Regions from separate parts of the Homo sapiens genome. Here region 1 is linked to region 2. Evidence: promoter capture Hi-C in 16 types of primary human blood cells and fetal thymus (Javierre and others, 2016). All regions are on one chromosome and are shown on one strand. Each heading gives the region's core, a stretch centred on a gene start or on the middle of the fragment in contact. The rest is flanking DNA. Distances are from core to core; before and after follow the strand shown.

Region 1 (3,111 bases), core at 530-3,029, 270 kb after region 2:
CAATTGACCACATATGGGAGGGTTTATTTCTGGATCCTCTATTCAGTTCTATTGGTCTATATATCTATCCTTATGCCATTTCCACATTATTTGATTATTGTGACTTTGTAGTAAGTTTTGAAATCAGGAAATGCGGGTCCTCCAACTTTGTTTTTTTCAAAATAATTTTGGCTAGTCAGGACCCCTTGAGATTCCATGTGAATTTTAATGATGAATTTTTCTATGTGTGTAAAAAAATGCCACTGGGGCTGGGCGCAGTGGCTCATGCCTGTAATCTCAGCATTTTGGGAGGCTGAGGTGGGTGGATCACCTGAGGTTGGGAGTTCGAGACCAGCCTGACCAACATGGAGAAACCCTGTCTATACTAAAAATACAAGATTATCTCGGTGTGGTGTCACATGCCTGTAATCCCAGCTACCTGGGAGGCTGAGGCATGAGAATCGCTTGAACCCGGGAGGCGGAGGTTGCCGTGAGCTGAGATCGTGCCATTGCACTGCAGCCTGGGCAACAAGAGTGAAACTCTGTCTCAAAAAAAAAAAGTCATTGGATTTTTATAGGAATGCATTGAATACACAGATTGCTTTAGGTGGTATTGTCATCTTAAATATATTAAGACTTTCAATTTATGAACATGGGACGTCTTTCTTTGCTTTTTTTTTTTTCCAGCAATGTTTTGTAGCTTTTATTCTACACATCTTTGGCCTCCTTGGTTAAGTTTATTCCTAAGTATTTTATTCTTTGGTTTTTGTTTTTGTTTTTGTTTTTTTGAGATGGAGTCTCGCTCTGTCGCCCAGGCTGGAGTGCAGTGGCGCGATCTCGGCTCACTGCAAGCTCCGCCTCCCGGGTTCATGCCATTCTCCTGCCTCAGCCTCCTGAATAGCTGGGACTACAGGCGCCTGCCACCACGGCCGGCTAATTTTTTTGTATTTTTAGTAAAGACGGGGTTTCACTGTGTTAGCCAGGATGGTCTCGATTTCCTGACCTCGTGATCCGCCCGCCTCGGCCTCCCAAAGTGCTGGGATTACAGGCGTGAGCCACCATGCCTGGCCAGTATTTTATTCTTTTTAATGCTATTGTAATGAAATTTTCAAAAGTTTCCTTTTCAGATTACTCATTGCAAATATACAGAAATAAAACTGATTTTTGTGTGTTAATTTATATTCTGTAGCCTTGCTGAATTTTAGTAGCTTTAATAATTTTATTGTGGATTCTTTAAGGTATGCTACATGTAAGAAGATGTCATCTGCAAACAGATAATTTTATTTTTCCTTTTCAATGTGGATGTCCTTTATTCTTTTTCTTTATTTTATTTTATTTATTATACTTTAAGTTTTAGGGTACATGTGCACAATGTGCAGGTTTGTTACATATGTATACATGTGCCATGTTGGTGTGCTGCACCCATTAACTCTTCATTTAACATTAGGTATATCTCCTAATGCTATCCCTCCCCCCTCCCCCCACCCCACAACAGGCCCCAGTGTGTGATGTTCCCCTTCCTGTGTCCATGTGTTCTCATTGTTCAATTCCCACCTATGAGTGAGAATATGCGGTGTTCGGTTTTTTGTCCTTGCGATAGTTTGCTGAGAATGATGGTTTCCAGCTTCATCCATGTCCCTTTACAAAGGACATGAACTCATCCTTTTTTATGGATGCATAGTATTTCATGGTGTATATGTGCCACATTTTCTTAATCCAGTCTGTCGTTGTTGGACATTTGGGTTGGTTCCAAGTCTTTGCTATTGTGAATAGTGCTGCAATAAACTTACCTGTGCATGTGTCTTTATAGCAGCATGTTTTATAATCCTTTGAGTATATACCCAGTAATGGGATGGCTGGGTCAAATGGTATTTCTAGTTCTAGATCCCTGAGGAATCGCCACACTGACTTCCACAATGGTTAAACTAGTTTACAGTCCCACCAACAGTGTAAAAGTGTTCCTATTTCTCCACATCCTCTCCAGCACCTGTTGTTTCCTGACTTTTTAATGATCGCCATTCTAACTGGTGTGAGATGGTATCTCATTGTTTTGATTTGCATTTCTCTGATGGCCAGTGATGATGAGCATTTTTTCATGTGTCTTTTGGCTGCATAAATGTCTTCGTTTGAGAAGTGTCTGTTCATATCCTCTGCCCACTTTTTGATGGGGTTGTTTTTTTTCTTGTAAATTTGTTTGAGTTCATTGTAGATTCTGGATATTAGCCCTTTGTCAGATAAGTAGGTTGCAAAAATGTTCTCCCATTCTGTAGGTTGCCTGTTCACTCTGATGGTAGTTTCTTTTGCTGTGCAGAATCCTAAGCCAAAAGAACAAAGCAGGAGGCATCATGCTACCTGACTTCAAACTATACTACAAGGCTACAGTAACCAAAACAGCATGGTATTGGTACCAAAACAGAGATATAGACCAATGGAACAGAACAGAGCCCTCAGAAATAATGCCCCATATCTACAACTATCTGATCTTTGACAAACCTGACAAAAACAAGAAATGGGGAAAGGATTCCCCATTTAATAAATGGTGCTGGGAAAACTGGCTAGCCATATGTAGAAAGCTGAAACTGGATCCCTTCCTTACACCTTATACAAAAATTAATTCAAGATGGATTAAAGACTTAAATGTTAGACTTAAAACCATAAAAACCCTAGAAGAAAACCTAGGCATTACCATTCAGGACATAGGCATGGGCAAGGACTTCATGACTAAAACACCAAAAGCAATGGCAACAAAAGCCAAAATTGACAAATGGGATCTAATTAAACTAAAGAGCTTCTTTATTTCTTTTTCTTGACTGGTCTCACCAGGACTTACAGTACTATGTTGAATAGAAGTGGAGAAAGCAGGCATCCTTGTCTCGTTCCTCATCTTAGTGATACAGCTTTCCGTCTTCCATCGCTGAGTATGATGTTGGCTGTGAGATTTTCATATGTGGCCTTTATCACATTGAGGACTTTTCCTTCTATTTCTAGTTTATTGAATGTTTTATCGTAAAAACTTGGTCAATGCTTTTTCTGCATAGATTGAGATAATCATGTATTTTTCCTTCATTCTGTTAATTTAGTGTATTATATTGATTTGCTCTCCTATGTTGACCCCTCCTTGTATTCCAGAAA
Region 2 (2,955 bases), core at 427-2,926:
GAAACCAACTGTTCACTGTTTGGAAATATGAAATAAAAAAGTTTTTAAATATTGAAAATTTTAAAAGAAAAAGAAACAGCTCAAAGCAGTAGGTCTGATGGTACCCCACAAATGCAGCTGACGTGACTGGCACAGTGGATGGCCGACTCATTTGTGCCCACAGTCAACTCTTTGGCCTGCCAAGAAAGCAAGGGGTGGTGTGGCCAGAAGGTCTGAGACCCTGGGGACAACCAAGTGACCAGAAAGCTAGTTCCAGGAAAGAAAAGGTTTACAGCCACTGCTCAAAAACACAGATGAGAAATCTAAGTCAGTGTTTTGTGTGTGTTTTTTTGTTTGTTTTTTTTTTTTTTTTGAGACAGAGTCTCGCTCTGTCACCCAGGCTGGAGTGCAGTGGCACAATCTCGGCTCACTGCAAGCTCCACCTCCTGGGTTCACGCCATTCTCCTGCCTCAGCCTCCTGAGTAGCTGGGACTACAGGCGCCCACCACCATGCCTGGCTAATTTTTTTTGTACTTTTAGTAGAGAGGGGGTTTTGCCATGTTAGCCAGGATGGTCTTGATCTCCTGACCTTGTGATCCGCCCGTCTGGACCTCCCAAAGTGCTGGGATTACAGGCGTGTAAGTCAGTGTATTGTAAAAATAAAATGTAAGTTCACATTAGAATAATATTTAAGAAAAATCATTCAGTGGTATCTGAACTGGGTAGCCTAGTGTAAAAGATTTTTCCAGGAGTCCCTGGGGAAGACCTGATCCCACATCTTGGGGAAATAAAAAATTTGAAATATATATTTTCATGTTACCCAAAAGTTAGGGGTGTTTGAAAACTGTCTGAAATGACAAAGTAGAAGGGTTGGAACAGTTTGCAGTGGCCGAACGATGACCATGTGAGCATCGAAAATGAGCAATTGTCACTCACTGGAAGAAGCTGAATCTGTAATTATCCTCACAATTACATGATTTTATAAGACACATTAAAAAATCCTTAAATGCAAAAGCGGGGAGAGCCTAATAAGGAAGGCTAATGCTTACTAATTTTAACAAGAGGAGGACTGTGGGGTCTGCGGGAGTCCTACCCCTGACTTGGGGTGTATGTGGCAACGAGGCAGAAACTGCCTTCTGTCCTACCTAAGAGAAAGACAGGGAACTCCCACAGCCAGGATCTGCCAAAAAAGGTCAAGACTACCAGCAACATGGGCGAGGGGGCCTCTGGGGTCACGTTGAGTTAGTCGCTGCATAGAAAGAGGGCTCAAATCTAAAAAATGCAAGAGGGTAGGTCACCCAAGGGTGGGGAAGGTCTTGGCTGGAGGATGAAGGGGCCTCTTGTCTCTGGGGCGAGGCGATGTCAAGGGGAATGACAAACCAAACCAGTCCAAAGCAAGGGGACTCTGTGTCCTGGGTTCTCAGACAAGGTGACCGGGAGGGAGCCCACCAAGCTCAGGGAAAGGCCTGGCCTCCGTCATCCACCTGAGCTCTGCCTTCCCTTCAGCCTTAGCCTCAGCGTGGACCCGGGACTCCTGCATCCTCCCGTCCTGCCCCGCCTGGGCACACCACGGCCGAGAGCCTCCTGTTGGCATCAGCCTCTCCCCAGCACCGACTGTGCGCTCCCGCTCCCCCCTCCTCCCCACAACCCCGCCCCACACTACTGGCACTGCTGCCTGAGCCTTCCTGGAGTTACTTAATCCACCCCAGCCCCAGGCACTGAACCACGCGTGCAGACCCCTCGTCCTCAGTTCTGCGGAGACAGAGTCCCCACAGCATTTCTGCTCCTCCCTCAAGACTGCGGCAGAGCACAGCACCAGTAGACCCCACACAGTGAGTACCTGTAGGGCAAGTGCCTCTTTCGTTCTCTTAATAATAGAGTCAGGTCCCTTCTCCAAGGGAAGACCCTGCCTTGCAGCCCCAGCCTGGCCTGCCCCTTCTTGCAGGCCCGCTCCGAACCCTGGGTAAGACTCGTGACGAGGCTCCGGGTGGCCGAGCCCTTCCGAGAGTGCTGCGGTCGGCAGGGCTGGGCTGGCTCTCTGGGCTGAGGGGGAGGGGCTCCCACACCTGTGCGCTCCCGGAAGAGGGGACAGCGGCGGGGGCGCCGTGCGCACGGGGGCGAGGGGAGACGACTGCACCTGAGGGAGGCGCAGCCGCAACCGGGTGGGAGGCAGAGACACCCAGAAACAGAGACGGGGCGATACGAACAGACAAAGCCGGCTCGAGCGCGGCCCGAGCGGCGGCGCAGGGAGGCGGCAGCCTGGCGGAGCAGCCCCCACCGCGGCCGGCGCGCCCCCTCGCCACCCCTGCGCGCCAGCGCCGGCCCGCCCCTCCCGCTGGCCTCTGGCGGCTTAACCCTCGCCTGCCCGACCCCGCGGGGCCCCTGGAGCCGCGGTGGGTGGGTGCGGGCGCCGGGCCTCCCCCTCCCGGCCGCGGCGCGCGGCGCCGGGAGCTGACCGTGGTGCTGAGCGCGGCTCGCGCTCCGACGCGGTGCCCGAGCCTGTCGCGGCCGCGCCCTGCTGCACTGCGGGCCCCCAGCGGTAAGTCGCCAAGGCCCCGAGAGGCTGCGTTGGTCCTGCCCCGCGGATGTGGACCCCCGGGGAGGGCAAGGATTGGGGAATTTGGTGCATTCTCTGGCGCGATGGACGGGCTGAGGGCAGGAAGCAGGGTCGACACCCTCCACCCAGCGGTTCCCGGCGCAGTCAGGGGCCTGGGAGCGGTGACCCTTTTAGGTCTGGGCTAGGGAAGCGGAGAAACCCTCCGCCGGCGGATGCAGGAGCTGAGGGAGAGCCAATATCGCTGTGAGGCCCATCTCCTTGCCCCTGGGCAGGCCAGGACCGCCCAGAGGCGCCCTCCAAGGAGGTGGGCCAGGACCTTCCCTCCCCAGAGGGCCCTTTGTCTCCCCAGTGTGGGGGTTGGGTGGCTTGGTGGTGCTCTCACCGCAGATTCTATTTCTGTTTTATTCCCCATTCCCACC

The links. Contacts are between HindIII fragments. The CHiCAGO score rates a contact against its expected background, and 5 or more counts as called.
Region 1: a contact is called between a fragment that was not itself captured here and the fragment with the promoter of AMER3 in region 2, in 1 of 17 cell types (activated CD4 T cells). The highest score is 5.7, in activated CD4 T cells.

The regions. Positions count from the first base shown.
Region 1 is chr2:131,018,885-131,021,995 of GRCh38, forward strand. The region is part of intron 4 of ARHGEF4 (Rho guanine nucleotide exchange factor 4); the gene reads left to right. Among named protein-coding and RNA genes, the nearest start is that of SMIM39, 15 kb to the right of the region's middle. The HindIII fragment of the contact is 3,953 bases long and covers 1-3,111 here.
Region 2 is chr2:130,753,864-130,756,818 of GRCh38, forward strand. It overlaps AMER3 (APC membrane recruitment protein 3), which reads left to right and starts at 1,677. Exons shown (of 2, transcript NM_152698.3): 1 at 1,677-1,811. It overlaps LOC124907890 (a long non-coding RNA gene), which reads right to left and starts at 2,019. Exons shown (of 2, transcript XR_007087239.1): 1 at 1,820-2,019. RefSeq lists enhancers at 1,453-1,952, 2,831-2,955. The HindIII fragment of the contact is 12,260 bases long and covers 1-2,955 here.